Regions from separate parts of the Homo sapiens genome. Here regions 2, 3, 4, 5, 6 and 7 are each linked to region 1. The links are contacts of gene promoters, found by promoter capture Hi-C in blood cells and fetal thymus (Javierre and others, 2016). All regions are on one chromosome and are shown on one strand. Each heading gives the region's core, a stretch centred on a gene start or on the middle of the fragment in contact. The rest is flanking DNA. Distances are from core to core; before and after follow the strand shown. Region 1 holds the start of CD247 (CD247 molecule). Region 2 has its middle 7.3 kb from the start of GPA33-AS1. Region 3 overlaps GPA33 (glycoprotein A33). Region 4 overlaps LOC105371601 (a long non-coding RNA gene). Region 5 has its middle 50 kb from the start of STYXL2. Region 6 overlaps LINC01363 (long intergenic non-protein coding RNA 1363). Region 7 overlaps STYXL2 (serine/threonine/tyrosine interacting like 2).

The links. The method cuts DNA at HindIII sites, captures the fragments that hold promoters and counts their contacts. A CHiCAGO score of 5 or more calls a contact.
Region 2: a fragment that was not itself captured here is called in contact with the fragment with the promoter of CD247 in region 1 in 1 of 17 cell types (fetal thymus); the score reaches 6.3 in fetal thymus.
Region 3: a contact is called between a fragment that was not itself captured here and the fragment with the promoter of CD247 in region 1, in 2 of 17 cell types (total B cells and fetal thymus). The highest score is 8.1, in total B cells.
Region 4: a fragment that was not itself captured here is called in contact with the fragment with the promoter of CD247 in region 1 in 1 of 17 cell types (total B cells); the score reaches 5.3 in total B cells.
Region 5: a fragment that was not itself captured here is called in contact with the fragment with the promoter of CD247 in region 1 in 1 of 17 cell types (naive B cells); the score reaches 6.0 in naive B cells.
Region 6: a contact is called between a fragment that was not itself captured here and the fragment with the promoter of CD247 in region 1, in 1 of 17 cell types (total B cells). The highest score is 5.9, in total B cells.
Region 7: a contact is called between a fragment that was not itself captured here and the fragment with the promoter of CD247 in region 1, in 2 of 17 cell types (neutrophils and endothelial precursors). The highest score is 6.0, in neutrophils.

What each region holds. Positions count from the first base shown.
Region 1 is chr1:167,517,265-167,519,964 of GRCh38, forward strand. CD247 (CD247 molecule) reads right to left here and starts at 1,265. Exons shown (of 8, transcript NM_198053.3): 1 at 1,144-1,265. The coding sequence starts at 1,201. It also overlaps the pseudogene AKR1D1P1. RefSeq lists enhancers at 1-625, 1-1,096. The HindIII fragment of the contact is 3,961 bases long and covers 1-2,700 here.
Region 2 is chr1:167,043,991-167,046,690 of GRCh38, forward strand. No RefSeq gene overlaps it. Among named protein-coding and RNA genes, the nearest start is that of GPA33-AS1, 7.3 kb to the right of the region's middle. RefSeq lists an enhancer at 35-184. The HindIII fragment of the contact is 2,001 bases long and covers 448-2,448 here.
Region 3 is chr1:167,061,963-167,064,662 of GRCh38, forward strand. GPA33 (glycoprotein A33) reads right to left here. Exons shown (of 7, transcript NM_005814.3): 4 at 1,620-1,775. GPA33-AS1 (GPA33 antisense RNA 1) reads left to right here. Exons shown (of 6, transcript XR_922249.3): 4 at 709-801; 5 at 1,026-1,155. Among named protein-coding and RNA genes, the nearest start is that of GPA33-AS1, 11 kb to the left of the region's middle. RefSeq lists a silencer at 2,690-2,700. The HindIII fragment of the contact is 3,499 bases long and covers 1-2,700 here.
Region 4 is chr1:167,167,925-167,170,624 of GRCh38, forward strand. LOC105371601 (a long non-coding RNA gene) reads left to right here. Exons shown (of 3, transcript XR_922250.3): 2 at 572-640. Among named protein-coding and RNA genes, the nearest start is that of LINC01363, 27 kb to the right of the region's middle. The HindIII fragment of the contact is 6,292 bases long and covers 1-2,700 here.
Region 5 is chr1:167,142,609-167,145,308 of GRCh38, forward strand. No RefSeq gene overlaps it. Among named protein-coding and RNA genes, the nearest start is that of STYXL2, 50 kb to the left of the region's middle. The HindIII fragment of the contact is 6,442 bases long and covers 1-2,700 here.
Region 6 is chr1:167,190,780-167,193,479 of GRCh38, forward strand. All of the region lies in intron 2 of LINC01363 (long intergenic non-protein coding RNA 1363), which reads right to left. Among named protein-coding and RNA genes, the nearest start is that of LINC01363, 3.7 kb to the right of the region's middle. The HindIII fragment of the contact is 2,029 bases long and covers 408-2,436 here.
Region 7 is chr1:167,115,536-167,118,235 of GRCh38, forward strand. STYXL2 (serine/threonine/tyrosine interacting like 2) reads left to right here. Exons shown (of 6, transcript NM_001080426.3): 4 at 1,793-2,024. Among named protein-coding and RNA genes, the nearest start is that of STYXL2, 23 kb to the left of the region's middle. The HindIII fragment of the contact is 3,511 bases long and covers 1-2,700 here.

The DNA.
Region 1 (2,700 bases), core at 15-2,514:
GTGGGAGCAGAAGTGCCCATGGCCTCTCCTGCCCTCCCAACAGGGCCCCTAAACAAATTCCCACACCCAGGTGAGTTACCAGGAGCGATCAGGTGGGCCGAGGACATTTGCTTGCTTCACCTTCCCTGTTTCTTTAGATTGAAATTCAGCCTGCCCCACTTCTCAGGAAGATGCCACGAGGCTGATCCCCCTGAGCAGTTTGTCCTGTCCTCTTTTCACTGGTTTTCTTCCTCATTACCTGGGCTAGAAAACATGGTGGAAGCTAAAGGCTTGCAGCAAAGCTGGGCTCCCACGATCGGGAATGAGGTGAGGAGCAAGCACTCTTGTTGGCTGGGCGCTGCTCGTGGTGGTGACTTAACCAGGCACATCGTCTCATCTGCCCCGTGTTCTGTCAATGCCGGGCCCTCTGGCTGGGCTAGATGGCCGCCTAAGGGGCAGGCTGGGGTGAGTCACGGAGCCTGGGATGGTGCGTCACCCGGCAGTCCCAGGCGTGGGTGTGGGGACAGCCATGACAAGGCTGAGCCTAGACACGGACGCTTGGCCATGAGGTGGCGAAGGCGCTGTGGAGGCTGCCACCCGGTGCTTCCTGCCTGTGCCCCTCTCCTCCTTGGTTACCCCACTTACTCCCGGGCCCATTGGAGTGTTTCAGGCCATGACCTTGACTGACCAACAAAATCTTCTTTGTTGGCAAAGGAAGAAAGAAAGGGGCTGAGTGACGGAGCCAGCCAGAGGGTGAAAGAAGCTGAAGGGACTAGAACGTCGCAGCACGAAACATGGCCTGGCTGACATTTTCCGATCCTGTCCAGCTTCTGTGAAACACTCCCTCTCCGTTTCTCTACCCTGGGCCTGCCTCGGTTGCTCTCTTGCTTCCTTCTTCCTTCCTCTCTTATCACTCGAAAAATCTGTACCTGGAGGAGCTGTGTATTCTAGCAGCTGGCTCTGAACTGATGCCCAACTCGGCTGTGACGGAGCAGATGCCAGCACCGGGCCGGACCCCTCACTGCTCACTTGCCCATTGATTTGAGGAGGGCAGGATTTGAAGGAGACCCCAGCCCCTCACCACCCTCCACTACCCACACCCACTCCCCTACACATACACAAAGAGTTTCTAGAAGTTCCCTGCCGTCGACACGTCGGCCCTACCTGTAATCGGCAACTGTGCCTGCAGGATGGCCGCGGTGAAAAGCGCCTTCCACTTCATCTTGTCCTTTCCCTCAGAAAGAGGCTGGGAGGCAGAGGCTGAGGCAGCGGTGGCCGGGACGGTTAGGAGAAAAGGAGTCTCTGCTGGTTTTATTCTGCAGCTACCTCCCCAGGAAGTGGAGGACTGTGGGGCCTTTGAGAAAGCACCTGCCGACAGGGCCAAGAAATTCGCACTCCCCCTTTCGGTTCACAGGCAGGAAGCCCTGGAGGTTTGAGGGTTTGGGGTGTGTGTATGTATCTGTCTGTCTGAATTTTGCTTTTTCTCTCATTTGACCATTGTTTTAATGCTCCTTTTTTTAAAAAAAATAATTCTTATCTAATTCCTATCTTGATTGGTAAAGTCCATCTCTAGGCAAATACAAGTTCTCGATGGATGTAAGAACATTTGCTGTTTTCCTAGACTGTCAAATATTTTATGGTGGCTGGCAAAATGACAGAACCCTGGATTAGAGTCCAGGACAAATGTAGAGACAGATTCCTTGGGCTTTAGTGACATCTCTGCCTACCACCTACTTGCTGTGTGGCGTTGAGTCAGTCACTCAACATCTCTAGACTTCAGCTTCCTTATCTATAAAGCAAAGAGCTGGAGTAGATCTGAGGTTGCAGATCTGAACTTGGCCTGAATTTGGATCATTGTGTGAAATACTGTAGCTCACATAGTATTTTAAACACTTGTGTTAGTTGTCAACATTTAAACACCAGAGTAATTTACAATAATAAAACATTAAAACCTAGACATAAACTTCGTCTAAAAATTGTAATATATCTATATGAAACAAACTTTAAAACATTGCTGAAGAACGCCGAAAGGACTTGGGTAAATGGAAAGGCATACCCTTCTTTGATAGGAAGCTCTCTTTTAAGGAGACCACCATTCTCTCTTAATTAATCAATCTATTTCATTGAAAATACCAACAAAAAGTTTTAGAACAAGTTAAGCTGATTCCAAAATTGATATGAAAAAAATTAATGTACAAGAATAGCCAATAATCCAAAGTCACAGCAATCCAACATAAAATTGATAAATTGGACTTCATCACAATTAAAAGTTTTTGTGCATCAAAGGACACTATGAAGAAAGTGAGTCCTGCAAATCACCGCATACCTCTAAGTGATGGAAACAGCATTCCCATCATCAGACTTGGTACCTACTCAGAGCCTAAATTGACCCCTAAGGGGGCCGATGACTTACTCAAGGCCACACAGCAAGTAGGTGGTAGGTAGAGATGTCACTACAGCCCAAGTAGTCTGTCTCTACATTTAGTCTGAGTCTTCATCAGTGAAGGTTGTCATTGGTCTGGGGTGCTGACACACTGATGAAGCCTACATATACCAAAATGAAGACACAGCTGGGGAGGCCATCAGGGGGAAAATAGCAGAAGGAAAGGTGCAGAGGAAGGATATCTTCTACTGTGGAAAACTGTGGGCTACAAATCACAACCCAGAGCTGGTCTGCCCGAGCCTAGAGAGGATGCTCAAGGTCCTCCAGCTAGATTGTGT
Region 2 (2,700 bases), core at 198-2,697, 470 kb before region 1:
TTGAATCCACCTTGCAAAGCTCCTGCTCCAAGACAGCTGCAGCTTGTGCTCTGTAGAGCGATATGAAATAATTGCCCGTTGGCACAATAAGCCCATCTCCTCTCCGGGCAGCACAAAAGAAAGCTCAAAAGCATCTCCGGTTTTGATTGCCAAGTGGGGGAGGCAGTGAAAGTACACTAAATTATGAGTCCAGGTGCCTCTCTACAGAAATCCACTTCCGCCTCGCTGCCGCTCTGAAGGCGCGCAGTGGGTGTTGACGTCACCTTCGGCCACAGGAGCTTGGAGAGGCTGGGGCCCTGACTCCCCGCGGGATCCGCTGGTAGACCAGGGCGTGCTCTCAGACTGGAAGTGCAGGAAGGCTCGCTTACTCTCGCCATAGACCAGACTGACAGGGGTCTGCCAAGGCTGCTGGGAATGTGGGAAGTGAACTTTAGGTGGAAACAGAAAAGCTTCTCTCTCCGTGGGTAGCCTTTTTTTTTTTTTTTTAGTTCAGGAGAGAAAAAAAAAATCATAGAAGCCTGCCAAGCCAAATAAACTATGCTCAATTAAGTCTTTCAACTGTGCAATTCCTCTTGTTGATTTTATGAGGAAAAGGGCAGAATAGAAACATGATGGGCTTGTTTAAAATACTTCAAAAGGGAAGAACCTATATTCTCCTGCTTCCCAGACCGACCTCTTTCGGGCTTTCCTTTCCTCCAGCCATGCTGCAGGCCTTTCACTGTCATCTCCTCCATCTGTGATAAAGCTGTCCACAGAACCCGTCCTCAGCTGCTTTCTCACCACACACCCTCACTCAGGGCATGTCCTCCATGTCATGCCCCTCATCCAGGCCTGTGACTCCCAAGGAGCTGAATCAGCCAAAACTCTCCCTCCCCAACCCCAACTCCAGGCGCTTATACCTCACTCCCCACAGCTGTTTTTATTATTCGTATTCACTGCTACTCAATCCCATCTTGTTTTCAAGAGGACTTAAGGTGGATTCCACAAATACATAAAAGATGAGAACTAAATAAAGTCAAAATCACTGTGAAGATAAAATGAGGGCAAAAAAGGAGAGAGAGCGAGATGAAATCATGGACAAAGTTAGTTCACCAACTCCATTTAGAAAAATCCTGAACAGTTCCTTGACATATATAAGTTTGACTCTGAACTTCCTAGCAATCATTGCAATGAGGAAAGCACAAGTTGTATATAATTCATGGTGTCCTTAACACAATGTGTCTATAGCAGACTTGCTTATATGTAGCAAAAACTTATGACCTAATGGGAATAGAAAAAAAAAAAGAAGAAACCGGGTGCAGTGGCTCACGCCTGTAATCCCAGCACTTTGGGAGGCCAAGGCAGGTGGATCACCTGAGGTCAGGAGTTCGAGACCAGCCTGGCCAACATGGCGAAACCCCGTCTCTACTGAAAATACAAAAATTAGCCGGGCTTGGTGGCAGATGCCTGTAATCCCAGCTACTTGGGAGGCTGAGGCAGGAGAATTTCTTGAACCCAGGAGGTGGAGGTTTCAGTGAGCCAAGATCGTGGAAAAAAAACCCAAAAAACTGAGCAGCAAAAACTTTCCTAGTAAGCAGACCTGAGAGAAAATTATCTGGTGGATTTTCATCAACAAGTAATTTACAATGTAGTGAGCAGTGTCCTCAACAATACTCTAATGATAAATACAAAAATGAGAGACCTAATATTGCTTCTAACAATTTCCTACAATGATGACCAGTGGAATAATGCTAAAGTAGTTATGTAAAAGAATTCCAGAGGGACTCAAGGTGATTCCAACCGAAGATGCAGATCCGATGGCTTGGCTTGAGACAAGGAAAAAGTAAAGAATATTCTATACTTTGTACAACTCTCTGTAAGTACTATTTCTTTTATTGGAAGTTTTGAAATGTATCGATCAGCAGTAAGTCCAAACTTATAATCTCTTGAAATTTCTGGGGTGCAAATATTCTTAGTCGGATTTAAGTGCAAATATTCTTAAATTTAAGCCAGCCTAGAAGGGTGGAGTGGGGTTAGGGTGACATGTTTTTATGTAGGTTGAAATGCTTAATTTAGACACTTGCCCATGCAGAGGCCACTTCCCTGGTTTTGCATAAAGTTGGCTTGAAGGGCTACCAATGAGCAGAAAACAAGGTTTGTTCCAAACCAGGAATATATAAGCAGATGAGGCCAGGTCTCTATGCCCCAGAACAATGCTGCAACAGAAAGGAGAATGGGGAGGAGGAAGACTCATAGGAGAGATGCTAAAGGGATAATGTCTTCAAAACTGGCCACTAGTTGACTTTAAAAAAAAGTGGCATCTAGGAGGACTCTCAGGTTGGGAAAAACTTTCATTCAGGGGCTCTTTTCTTGTCATTGTATTGCTCTGAGCAAATCATTCCCTGTCCAGTTACTGCTGGTAAAGAGAAAAGGGGCTGCTGCAGCCCAACACTACAGGAATCAGCTGCAAGCTTCAAAGAGGGTGCCTCGCCAGAGAAAATAACAAGAGAGGGACTCCCCCGAGCCCACACTTGAGGCCGAGTGACTGCAATCAGGAGCGAAGGCTTCTGAAGAGGAGCAATGCCTGAAGCTGAGGTATAAGCAGTCTCCCAGGGTCAGGGTCTCCCTGAGGTGGAGAAGCCTGTAGGCTGTCCACCCTGAGGGCCTGGGCAAGTGCTTGTGGTCCCTACACCTCATTCCCTTGGTCACCTGCTTGTAGTT
Region 3 (2,700 bases), core at 59-2,558, 460 kb before region 1:
GGGCTTATCCAGGACACCAGATATTCTTCCCCCGGGTCCTCATCCCCACCCCCGGGGCACCTCATCTTCTCAGAAGAGCTGTGTGCCCTGCTGGCTTTGCTTTCCACCTCTGGCCTCCTTTTCCACCTACACTGAACTGAAAGACCTCCCAGAAGCTAAATCGGATGGACACCTTTCAGGCCTTGTCTTTCTTTTTAAAAAATATTTTATTTATTTTATTTTATTTTACTTTATTTTATTTTATTTTACTTTATTTTATTTTATTTTATTTGAGGCAGGGTCTCGCTCTGTCACCAAGGCTGGAGTGCAGTGGTGTGATCATGGCTCACTGCAGCCTCGACCTCCAGAGCTTAAGCAATCCTCCCACCTCAGCCTTCTGAGTAGCTGGGACTAAAGGGTGAGTCCTGCCATGCCCAGCTAATTTTTTAAAAATTTTGTTTGGAGACAGGGGTCTCACAATGTTGCCCAGACTGGTCTTGAACTCCTAGCCTCAAGTGATCCTCCTGCCTCAGCCTCCCAAAGTGCTGGGATTACAGGCATGAGCCACGGCACCCAGCAAGCCTTGTCTTTCTTGATCCTCAGGAGCAGGGGTGGCACTAGGGGCCCTGGGACTCCACCAGGGTATTTCCACACCCATTGGCTCTGGGTGTGGAAAGGATGGTAGGATTTTTATATAGCTCTTTCTTTTTTTTTTTTTTTTTTTTTCAGTTTCCTGACTGAAAGGTCCAATACCAAGCTGCCCAGTACAAAACTGGTCTCCTGGCAACTATAGCTGAATCCACCATCGCCTCCCCTAAGAAGGTGGGACCCTTACAGCAACATGGTGCTGTCGTTGTGTGGAGCCATAAAACGGTGGTGTGTCTGGGGCAGCGGGGGTCCGTGACGGCTGAGAGGGACCGGCCTGGATAAGGAATGGGAAAGTTAAATTCCCCACCTTTGCGTGGAGCCCCCGAGTTAGACTTGGGGTCTCAAATGTATACTTCAGGACACAATCAAATTAAAATCCTACCCATGCTTTTGCACAGAGTGCTTATCAGGGCACGTTCATCCAAGAGAACTGAGGAATGAGGAACAAAGAAAACAAGTTAACATTTACCACGGCTTCCGCTACGCGCTTTACATGAATCATTTTTGTTTCTTGCCAGAACCTATGAGGTAGGTATTATTATAAGAAACCAGTGCTGGCCGGGCGCGATGGCTCACGCCTGTAATCCCAGCACTTTGAGAGGCTGAGGCGGGTGGATCACCTGAGGTCAGGAGTTCAAGACCAGCCTGGCCAACATGGTGAAACCCCGTCTCTACTAAAAATAGTGGTGGGCACCTGTAATCCTAGCTACTTGGGAGGCTGAGGCAGAAGAATCGCTTGAACCTGGGAGGAGGAGGTTGCAGTGAGCTGAGATCGTGCCAACTGCACTCCAGCCTGGGCCACCTGGCGAGACTCTGTCTAAAAACAAGAAACCAGTGCTTAGAGAGGTGGGGATAGGGGGATAGGGATGGGTAGGGAAGCAAGCGGCCTTCAGGGGGATCTGATCGGTCAACCCAAGTTGCAGCCCCTAGCCAATCAGCTGCATGTGTTGCACTTTGACGTGGGGAGCCCGCCTTCCCTACTGCCCCCTTACCTGGCTGGGCCAGGGGCTGCTCCTGATTCAGGATGTTGTACCTCTTCCAGCTGTACTGAGGGGTTGGTGAGCCCTCCTTTGATTGGCAGGTCAGCTGGATGTTGTTCCCAATTATGGTCTCTCCCTCGATGCCGCATTCTGGTTTGGAGGGTGGCACTATATAGAGGAGAGACCAAAGAGAAGGCATGAGGCAGGTGGGGCTTGGTGACAGCCACCCACCCCTCCCCACCCACCCCCCACACACATATACTGCCTTGTTTGTTCACAGGCAGAAAACTCCATAGTTGAGTAGTGAGATGGAATGCTGTAAAACCAATTCACCCCAATATGGCCTCAGTGGTCTGTCACCACCACAAAGGAGCAGTACATATGCTGGGAAGCATTGCGGGCCTGCAGTAGCTTTCCAAGGCATGGCCTCATGTGTGTTCTAGTTTACAGTCATGGGATTTTAAAGATAGCGGAACATGGCCGTTAGAAAGATGGGGTTCGAGATGAGTTTGAGACCAGCCTGGTCAACATGGTGAAACCCCATCTCTACTAAAAATACAAAAAATTAGCCGGCCGTGGTGGCACCCACCTATAATCCCAGTTACTCAGGAGGCTGAAGCAGGAGAATTGCTTGAATCTGGGAGGCGGAGGTTGCAGTGAGCTGAGATCGTGCCATAGCACTCCAGCTTGGGCAACAAGAGCAAAACTCTGTCTCAAAAAAAGAAAGAAAAGAAAAAAAGAAAAAGAAAGAAAGAAAGAAAGAAAGATGGGGACATTGAGGCCCAGAGAGGACACTTGCTCATAGGTACTGGCAGAGCTGGGACTAGATCTCAGCTCTTATAACTCCAGATCCTGTGCACTCTCCACCAGCCCATATGAGCTCCTTCTGCCACTAATTCATTTGTGCCATTTTGGGAAAATCCTCACTTCCCCTCGACCTCAGTGTTCCATTCTGTAAAATTAGTGGACTACAAACCTGTTCTGTAAAGGGCCAGGTGGCAATATTTAGGCTTCGCAGACTACATATTGTCTTTGTTGCTGCTACTTTTTCTCTTTAAATAGTATGTTAGAAATGTAAAAACAGTCTGTGGGC
Region 4 (2,700 bases), core at 3-2,502, 350 kb before region 1:
ACTCCTAAACCATAATTTCTAATCTTGTGGCTAATGTTAGTCCTACAAAGGCGTCTTGTTTGGGGAAAGGGCTGTTATCGTCTTTGTTTTAAACTATAAACTAAGTTCCTCCTACGCCCAGGAATGAATAAGGACAGCTTGGAGGTTAAAAGCAAAATGGAGTCAGTTACGTTAGATCTCTTTCACTGTCTCAGTCATAATTTTGCAAAGGCAGTTTCAATCATAGAGAAGAGATAACACATTTGAGAGAAATGTGTTTCTTAATCCATCTTCAGTCTCTATTGTGAGGCAGACACTACCTCCACCAGGCATTTCCCTCTTTAAGAGTGTGTTTGAAGACACCCTAAACTTTAATATTTGTGGCAGACCTGATCTTTGCACAAATGATTGGGAGTTATTTTTTAAAGGGCCAGGGACTTCATCACTGCATATCTTTTGGCATGAGGCTAAAGAGAAGAAGGTGTAGAAATCCTGACATTGTTAGGAGATATTTTTCACGTTGTTTTATAAAATGTAATGTACTTTCCAAAACTGTATATAAGCTAACCAGCTTCTATCTCCTCTATCACAGACGGAGCTGAGCAGAGTTAAGCATTCTGATTTCAATTCATGAAGCAGGAAATCTTTCTGGCAGGTCCTGGTGAGTTTCCAGTTTGGCTGCTGACAGATAGAGAAATGTGCTTTCTATAGCCTCTTCCTCTCCATCCCACGTCCACTGTGCACATTCTTCAGAGCTGGCAAGAGTCACTGACAGGACATGGCACCCATGGTTTGAAGCGCCGACTTTTCTCTGCAGGTGGCCCAGAGCCAGTGAAGGACTTTCTTGAAGCACATAGCACGCCATGGTCATACAACGGCGATATGTAGCCTGGGTGTCACTCACTGAGACACATTTCCTCCCTCCACCCCCACCCATCTTTCTTAAAATTTAGCATTTTCTGGACAAGATCAGGCTTACTATAAGACAGTGCTTAGAAAAACTGATGTTAAGATGGAAAAAATAAGGGAAGGAGAGGGAAGAAAAGGTGGGAAAGAGATTAGAAAAAGAGGAGGAAGATGATGGGGAAACTGGAAACAAAGAGTTAAAAAAAGTGGGGAGGAATAATGCTGTGAGGTTGAAGACTTCTACCTCAATGCCTTTGCATTTGCTGCCTCCACTAGTAACTCTCTCTCCTCAGTGATCTCACTCCCTCAATTCACTTCACACATCACTTTACAGTGACGCCATCCTTGGACTCCCTAGCAAAATCCACCCCCTTCCGTCACTCGCTAATTGCTTAACCAGTTCTACTTTCCTTCATAGCAGTGATCACCACCTAGAATATCACACATTTATTGGTTTGTCTTTCCTCAAGGGAATGTAAACTTCACCAGTACAGGGACTTTTTCAATTTCATTCCCTGCTATATTTTAAGCATCTAGTACAATGCCTGGCACAGAGCAGGTATATTAGTCAGAGTTCTCCAGAGAGACAGAATGAATAGGCTATGGACAGACACATAGAAAGATATAAGAGGAGATTGATTAGGGGAATTGGCTCATGTGATTATGGAGGCTGAGAAGTACCATGACAGGCTACCTCTACGTTAGAGACCTCAGGAAGCTGGTAGCATGACCTAGTCCAAGTCTAAAGACCTCTGAACCAGAGAAGCCGATAGTGTAACTCTCAATCCAAGGCCAAAAGCCCAAGAAAACCAGGGAGAGGCCACTGGTGCAGGTCCTGACCTGACCTAAAGGCCAGTAAGTCTGGAGTTCTGATGTCCAAGGGTAGGAGAAGAAGGGTGTGCCAGCTCCAGAAGGGAGGGGAAAGAATTTGCCTTTCTTCTACCTTTTTGCTCTCTTCAGGCCCCCCTTGATTGGACAGTGCCTATGTACATTGAGGGCAGACTTCCTCCCTCAGTCCACTGACTCACACGCCGGTCTCCTCTGGAAGCACCCTCATGGACACACCCAGAAACAATGCTGTACCAGTTCTCTAGGTGTTCCTTAATCTTGTCAAGTTTGGCACCTAAAATTAACCATTACAGTAGGTGTTCAGTAAACATTTGTTGAATACATAAATGGGAGGTCCTGGGGCTCCTTAAGAAAAAACAACAACAACAACAAAAAACCTCCTCCTTCCCCACCCAATCTCACAATGTCCCTGGAAAGAATGATCATTTTTATTTCATAACTTTATTTCATGGAGATAAATTGTTTTTATTCACATATAGTTTGAACCTTCCCCTCCTTTTCATAATTTTTTCCTACCAACACCCTAACCTCCTATAGAGTGAGAGAGAAAGAGAGCGGGAGGACACGTGCCAGTTCGTGTGCCATCAAAGGAATCGGCCTTTCTTTCATGGCAATGCCTTTGGAGCAAACCTGAAGCCTGTAAGGCAACAACAATGACAGTCTCTTTCCCACCTCCCAGAAGAGGATGAGAATAAATCCAGCGATAATGGGAAGAGTGTGATGTGAGGCAGAGCTAACATCACAGAGATCCCAGGGAACATTATTTTTCCCTCTCCTTTCTAAAGACACCATAAAAAGCTCCAGATTTTTCTTTCTGAGTGGTGACTGCTTTAAAGAATATAAAATCTGAGATACTGTGAACCCCCACATGATTTCACCTCTGGCAACTGATGTGAGACACAGTGATGGGACTTCATGGTTGTTATATTTGACTTGCAGCCTTGGGAGGAGGGCAGTTAGAAAGGA
Region 5 (2,700 bases), core at 115-2,614, 370 kb before region 1:
GTTTTTAAATTACTACTTCCATCTTTAGTTTTTATAGATTTATTCAGGATTTCTATTTCTTCTTGAGTCAGTAGTTTGTGTCTTTCTAGGAATTTGTCCGTTTCATATATGATATCAATTTTTTTTTTTTGAGATGGAGTCTTGCTCTGTCACCCAGGCTGGAGTGCAGTGGCGCCATCTTGGCTCACTGCAACCTCTGCCTCCCGGGTTCTAACGATTCTCCTGCCTCAGGCTCCTGAGTAGCTGGGATTACAGGCGCATGCCACCATACCCGGCTAATTTTTGTAGTTTTAGTAGAGACGGGGTTTCACCATCGAACTCCTTTTTTTTTGGAGACGGAGTCTCTCTCTGTTGACCAGGCTGGAGTGCAGTGGTGCAATCTTGGCTCACTGCAAGCTCCGCCTCCTGGCTTCACGCCATTCCCCTGCCTCAGCCTCCCGAGTAGCTGGGACTACAGGTGCCCGCCACCACGCCCGGCTAATTTTTGTATTTTTAGTAGAGACGGGTTTCACCTTGTTAGTCAGGATTCTCTCAATCTCCTGACCTTGTGATCCGCCCGCCTCAGCCTCCCAAAGTGCTGGGATTACAGCCCTGAGCCACCGCACCCGGCCATGATATCAAATTTGTTGGCATGCAGTTATTTGTAATATACTTTTATGATCCTTTTAATTTTTGCAAGGTTGGTAATGATGTTTTTGTTTTCTTTCTTTTTTTTTTTTTTTTTTTTTTTTTTGAGACAGAGTCTCACTCTTTCACCTAGACTAGAGTGCAATGGCACAATCTCAGCTCACTGCAACTTCTGTCTCCCGGGTTCAAGAGATTCTCCTGCCTCAGCCTCCCGAGTAGCTGGGATTACAGGTGTACGCCACCATGCCCAGCTAATTTTTTGTATTTTTAGTAGAGACGGGCTTCACCGTATTGGCCAGGCCAGTCTCTAACTCCTGACCTCAAGTGATCCGCCCGCCTAGGCCTCCCAAAGTGCTGGGATTACAGCTACCACGCCCGGCCTCTTTTTTTTTTCATTCCTGATTTTAGTAATTTCTGTCTTCTCTCTTTTTTTTTCTTGGTAAGTTCAATTAAAGATTTGTCACCTTTGTTGAACATTTCCAAGAACCAACTTTTTACTGATATTCTCGATTGCTTTTCCATTCCATTTCATTTATATCTACTCTAATCTTTATTTCTTCCCTTCTTGCTTTGTATTTATTTCGTACTTTTTTTCCGTTTCTTTTACTTTTATGTGGTTGTTTTTTTTAGAGAGAAGGTCTGTCTCTGTCACTCAGGCTGGACTGCATTGGCACGATCATGGCTCACTGCAGCCTCAAACTCTTAGGCTTAAGTGATCCTCCCACCTCAGCCTCCCAAGTAGCTAAAGCTACAGGCACACACCACCACACCTGGCTAATTTTTTAATTTTTTATAGAGATGAGGTCTCACTACATTGCCCATCTAGGAGATGTCCGATGTGCCCTTGAGAAGAATGTGCATTGTGCTTTTGTAGGGTGTAGTGTCCATTAGGTCTAATGGGTTTATAATGTTGTTCATTTCTTTTTTTGTTTTGTTCTTGTTTTTGAGAAAGGGTCTCACTCTGTCATCTGGGCTGAAGTGCAGTGGCACAGTCGCGGCTTACTGCAGCTTCAACCTTCCAGGCTCAAGCGATTCTCCTGCCTCAGCCCCCTCTTCCCCTCACCTGGTAGCTGGGTCTATAGGCACACGCCACCATGCCTAGCTGATTTTTGTATTTTTTGTAGAGACAGGTTTTCACCATGTTGCCATATTTCATTATATATAAATAATATTTTTATTATCAGCAGCACTTTCAAATGGCCATTTTTTATTTTGGTCTACTTTTAGACCTACAGAAAAGTTGCAAAAAAAGTAATAAAGACTTCCTTTATGTCCCCCACTCTTATTCTAACATGTTTTATGGCCATAGTGCAATTATCAAAATAGTCAAATAGCCTTTTTTCCTCCTTCAATTTTTTTGTTGTGGTAAAATATACATGACATAGTCTGGGAGCATTGTCTAATGTCTATAATCCCAGCACTTTGGGAGGCTTAGGTGAGAGGATCACTTGAGCCGAGGAGTTCAAGACCAGCCTGGGAGATATAGTGAGACCTCATCTCTACAAAAAAGTAAACAAATTTAGCCAGGTGTGGTGGCACGCTCCTGAACTCCCAGCTATTTGGGAGACTGAGGTGGAAGAATCGCTTGAGCCCAGGAGGTGGAGGCTGGAGTAATGAGCCAAGATCACGCAACTGCACTCCAGCCTAGGCAATAGAATGAAACTCTGTCTCAAAAAAAAAAAAAAAAAAAAAAGAAAAAGAAAAAGAAAGAAAGAAAGAAAGAGAAAACACAGCATAGAATCTATAATCGTGACCATTTTAAGTGTACAGTTAAGTGATGTTAAATATATTCATAAAGTTGTACAATCATCACCACTACCCATCCCTGGAACTTTTTCATCTTGTAAAAGTCAAGCTCTATACCCCTTAAACAGTGACTCTTTCTTATCCCTTCTTTCCTGCCCCTGGAAACCACCATTCTGCTTTCTGTCTCTTTGATTTTTACTACTCTATGTGCCTCATATAAGTGGAATTATATAATATTTGTTTTCTTGTGACTGGCTTATTTCACTGAGCAAAACGTCCTCAAAGTTCATCCATGTGTTGTAGCATATGTCAGAATTCCCTTCCTTT
Region 6 (2,700 bases), core at 172-2,671, 330 kb before region 1:
CAGTAAATGGGATCCTGGCTCTGATACGTTTTGGCTGTGTCCCCACCCAAATCTCATCTTGAACTGCAACTCCCACAATTCCCACGTGTCATGGGAGGAACCCAGTGAGAGGTGATTTAGTTATGCGGGTGGGTCTTTCCTGAACTGTTCTCATGAGAGTGAATGAATCTCACGAGAGCTGATGGTTTAAGAAAATGGAAGTTTGCCAGCACAAGCTCTCTGTTTTTGCCGCCACCATCCATGTAAGACACGACTTGCCCCTCCCTGCCTTTTACCTTCCACCATGATTGTGAGGCCTCCCTAGCCACGTGGAACTGTAAGTCCAATAAATCTCCTTCTTCTGTAAATTGCCCAGTCTTGGGAATGTCTTTACCAGCAGCGTGAAAACGGACTAATATAGGCTCCAAAGCTTCAATCAAAAAGAAGGGAAGGTATGTGATTTGGCAGCCCAAGTAACTTCGGAGAATTAAAACGAATCTGACCCAAGAAGGAGTTTTGTATTTCCTAATTTAAAACAAAAATTTCTCCTTAAGTCTTACACTTTCTGAAAGTAATTCATTTGGGACATTGCTAGCATAGGACTGATACCTTGTACTAGAGAAAGAAAGATGAATTCAAGTCAGAAAGTTAGCATGCAAAGTCCAGTATGTGTGCAACCAGATCAGAAAGGGATATTTGATGGGATACATATGAAAGCAATGGTTAGAGAAAAATAAACCACTTCATGTTCATAGGGTTAATATTACTCAATAAACAAGTTAAAATTGGTGAGAGATTTCCTATATATTTAAGTGCAACAGCAAACTGCAGAACCATACGTACATCTATATTTATATAGAGAGTCAGCATTTGTGTATTAATAAAAAAGCCTATGCCCCTATGTATGTACATATTTGCTTCCTTTTGTATAAAGTGTCTCTGGAAAGACATACAAAACAGGTAGTAACAGTTGCTTCTGAAGAAGGTAACTGGGTAGCTGGGAAACTTACTTTCAAAATATCATTTTGTAGCTTTTGCATGTTGTATCATATGACTATTTTATCTATTCAGCAAATTTAAAATTAAAAAATCACCCTCTGCAAGTCCCTTCAGATTTTATTTTTCTAAGTCCAGATACAGCATTTTAAACATATTCCTGGATTTGAACACTAAAGACAAAAATGGAATTATGATAGTGAGGCCACAAAGGAGACTCAGGAACAACCTGTGGGTGTTAGGTTTAAAAATCTGGACAGAGTCTTTCTTTCCTGTGTGGATGATAGTTTTTTGTGATAGCTGAACACACCCCCTCAGGGAGAATGTAAGAGATGTTGACTGGTACTCAGAGAGAATGCCAGTTGCTGAGCATTCCACATTCCAACAAAAGTTCCCAACACTTCTCTCAGGCTCACCAGACTGGCTCTGCTATCCCCGAACCTAATGCCAACATCCTTCTTCCTAAGGCTGATAGGCAGTAGAGAGAGTTGGATGCACTGGGAGTGCAAACCAGAAGTCATCCTGTCCCACTGGTGATAGTTACCTGGTCAGCTCTACAGTCCAGGTGGTCTCTTGGTCCCCACCTTGACTTCTCTCCTCTCACTGTCAGGCCACAGGTACCACATCACATAACCTGTGACATCTCTGTTCTAGAAAGCAGAAACTGTGCCCTGTTCACTTTATCCCTAGCCCCCAGCATAGTGCCTGGCCCACTGTGGTACCGACTGTAATGATTGTTGGATGAATGAATGCCCCAACAAGTGAATAAACAAATGAATAAATGGCATTAAGCTCTTTACTGTCCAAAGTTCCAAGCCAAAAGAGATGTTTTCCTCTAAGGTGATAAGTGTCTCTATATCCAGCATATCCAGTGTTTGTTGACAGGGCCTCTCAGCCTTCACAGCACCTTGTGCAAATTAGGAAAGCACATGCCTCCAGGCAGATGTACCCATAAGCCATAGCTTGGTGGCAGAAGGAGCCTCTGAGAGAAGGTAAAAGTGCCTTTCTCTGGGAAGACGGCCTGGATTGCTGCATTCAGGTTAGATTTCCAGACTCATTCACCCCTAGGCTGGGCATCTCTATGCAGAACCCCAACCACACAACCTTGAGCAGCTACAGAATTCCTTCCCTTTACCTCACTTCTGTTATGCCATCTCCATCTCCTCCTCCACTGGTATTTACTCCCCCACATCTCTTCCCCATCCCCTTTACCCAAGGGGCCCCTCCCAGGCTATCTCTACTCCATGTCTCTTACTCTCTTCCCTTCTCAATCTCTCATCGAGATTTTTTTCTTTCCATATTTCCTGGCTGCTCATCCTTTCTTTCATCAGCACATACTGTGATTCACACGTTTTCTCATTCTTCTCTTGTGGTACCATATTGAAAAAGAGTTTGTTTATCCCATTTAACAGAAAATAAACTAAGACTCAAGCAGTTTATATAACTTGATGAGATCACACAAGCTTTAAGGAACAAAGTTAGTAATTTAATCCAAATTGAGGTGACATCAAACACAAAGTTCTGACTTCTGCTTCTGGCTATAATTGAATAACAGGAACCAGATTTTATCCTGCTGCCTAAAACAGTAACAAAAAGAGGGATGAGATATATGAAACAGTAGTTTCAGGACACTGGGTATCAGGTAACAAAGGATAGTGATCCTGCAGAGACAGAAAATAAAATTAATGAGCCCTACAATTACCCTAGTTTACTGCCTTGACACAT
Region 7 (2,700 bases), core at 52-2,551, 400 kb before region 1:
AACAACAACCTGCTAGATAAATAGCCGAGGAAGACAACACCGTGTATTTTAATGAGGTGTCAGGAGTCCCACTTTTTATATGTAGTAAGGGAAAGACATCTAAGTAGACACGGGAAGGGGAGCGGACTGAATTTGCTATGAAAGACCCCAGGAGAGCCAGGGGAGAAAACTGGGTAGTGGAGAAAATAGGAACACTTCATCTATTTTTAAACAAAATAGAGCTCTGGGATTGCAGGAGTTTTCTTCTTTCTGCGTTTGAAACGGAGATCAGAGAACGTTTAGAGCTGAGCCCTGATGCAGGGATGTGGGGGTCCCTCAGGGGGGTTAGAGGAGGGAAGAGAGAAGGGAAATGAAATCCTGAGCCCTAGGCAGAACCCAAGGCTCCCTGGATTTGCAGTCCATGAGCAACAAGCCCTGCTTACAGACCCCTGGGAGGAGCAGATTCCACGAGGGGCTGGACCAAGTCTACCTTCCAAATGTGGCTGGACTCTCTGCAGCCCCCACCCAGAGACTGCCCATCAGGGAAGAGATGGTGCCATCAAGAGGCTATGGGGAACACAGAGGAAACATCTTTCCAGCTTCTTTTCTCTCTCTCTCTCTATTCAGTATTTTGGCTACCATGTGAGAGGAACGATTTTGTTCTTTGTTATTTTTGTCTAACTTAAAGAAAGAAAGCATCTTACATTTCCCCAAATTTGATAAACTGTGAGCAAATATATTATTAGAAGATAAAGATTCACCCCAGATGTGAGTGAATTGGGGTTTGAGTTCATCTGGAGTTTGAGCTTTTCTGACCTGTTGTCAGAAAGGCCCTGAGTCACGTTTTGAGATTAGAATGAGAGCTCATGGCCAACCTTTGCCACCTGTCTGTGGGCTGGGAGGCTGAGAATCATAGGTCCTTACATTCTAGTAGGGGGAAGAAGACAATACAAGAAATAAATCAGTAAATTAGGTGTATATTAGAAGGCAATATTGCATAAATTACTGCTGAAAGTTTTACTTTTCCCAGGGTTATTTGCAATCCATATGTAAAAGAGTCAAACTAACAGAGTGAATTATACTATGAATGAATGCCATTCACTCATTTGGTAAATACTTCTACTTTTTTTTTTTTGGTTTTTTTTTTTTTTTTTGAGACAGAGTTTCGTTCTTTTTGCCCAGGCTGGAATGCAATGGCATGCTCTCAGCTCACTGCAACCTCCATTTCCCAGGTTCAAGTGATTCTCCTGCCTCAGCCTCCCAAGTAGCTGGGATTACAGGCACTCTCCACCACGCTTGGCTAATTTTGTATTTTTGTAGGGACAGTGTTTCACCATGTTGGTCAGATTGGTCTTGAACTGCTGACCTCAGGTCATCTGCCCACCTTGGCCTCCCAAAGTGCTGGGGTTACAGACGTGAGCCACTACGCCTGGCTGGTAAACACTTCTGAGCATCCACTTTGTACTGGGCACTGTGGGAGTTATTAAGTATGAATCAAAGTACACCTAATACTTAAGGAACTTGGTCTAAAAAATTATCGACCAGCTTCAGAGAAGCATGGGAGGGAGTAAAAGAAATTGGATCCCCTTTACCCACATCTATACAGTCTTCTTGCTGACCCTGATTACAAGTGTTTGGGCCAGTGCAGCAGGTACCCTGGGCCCAATTAAAGTCCTTCCTGGGAGATCCTGCTGGCATTCAGTCCATGCCCAGAATCCTGGCAGCAAACTGGCCAAGAGCATGTTCTCCCCAGGAACAAGGAAGGCCATGATGTTCCTAACTCTCTGATGAGAATGCTGCCTGTCTCCTCTAGAACTCAAGCCACCGGGGGTCAGAGCAGACGCAGAGTGTCCAGGCATGCTGGAGTCTGCTGAACAGCTGCTGGTGGAGGACCTGTACAACCGCGTCAGGGAGAAGATGGATGACACCAGCCTCTATAATACGCCCTGTGTCCTGGACCTACAGCGGGCCCTGGTTCAGGATCGCCAAGAGGCGCCCTGGAATGAGGTGGATGAGGTCTGGCCCAATGTCTTCATAGCTGAGAAGTGAGTCTGACTGCTCTTCATGACCCTTTGTCCTAACCCTCTGGTTAGTGCCTGAGACAGACGAAACTCCCCCAACTTTCACCAAAGGCGCCCATAGGTCCATCCAGCACAATGAGGCTGCCTAGCCACTTACCCTGCCCCAGCCCAGAGAAAGGCCCCTCCATCCACCTGCATTCGGAGGTCTCCAGGCAAGATGCCGCCATGACTGCTTATCCTTTGCCCTCTTGCCAGGACTCTCTTGTCCCTCAAGAAGGCCTCTGGGCCTCCTTTCCTGCCACAGAGTCTTGCCGACTTCACCATCTCATGACATCTGTAGCTACCACAGAACCGGACACTAGGAGCCATTGACAATAATACTGACATGCATATGTAATTACCAACATTGGAAAATGTTCACAATACAGTAAGAAAGAATTAGATTACAAGAGAAGACATGTACAGTGTGCTGCTAATTGAGCAACAGATGTATGTGTATGTGTGTGCATGTTTTTGCATAGACAACAGTTAGGAAATGTGAGAAAATGTGAACAATGTTTCTCTCTGGGAGGTGTTTTTACAAGCAGTTTTTATTTTCTTCTTTAGATTTCCTTTAACTTGTACAGGTTTCCTAAGGTAGACATTGTTTTTATAATCCAAAAACTATTATTTTCTAAAAGTTTATCAGCGGTTTCCAGAA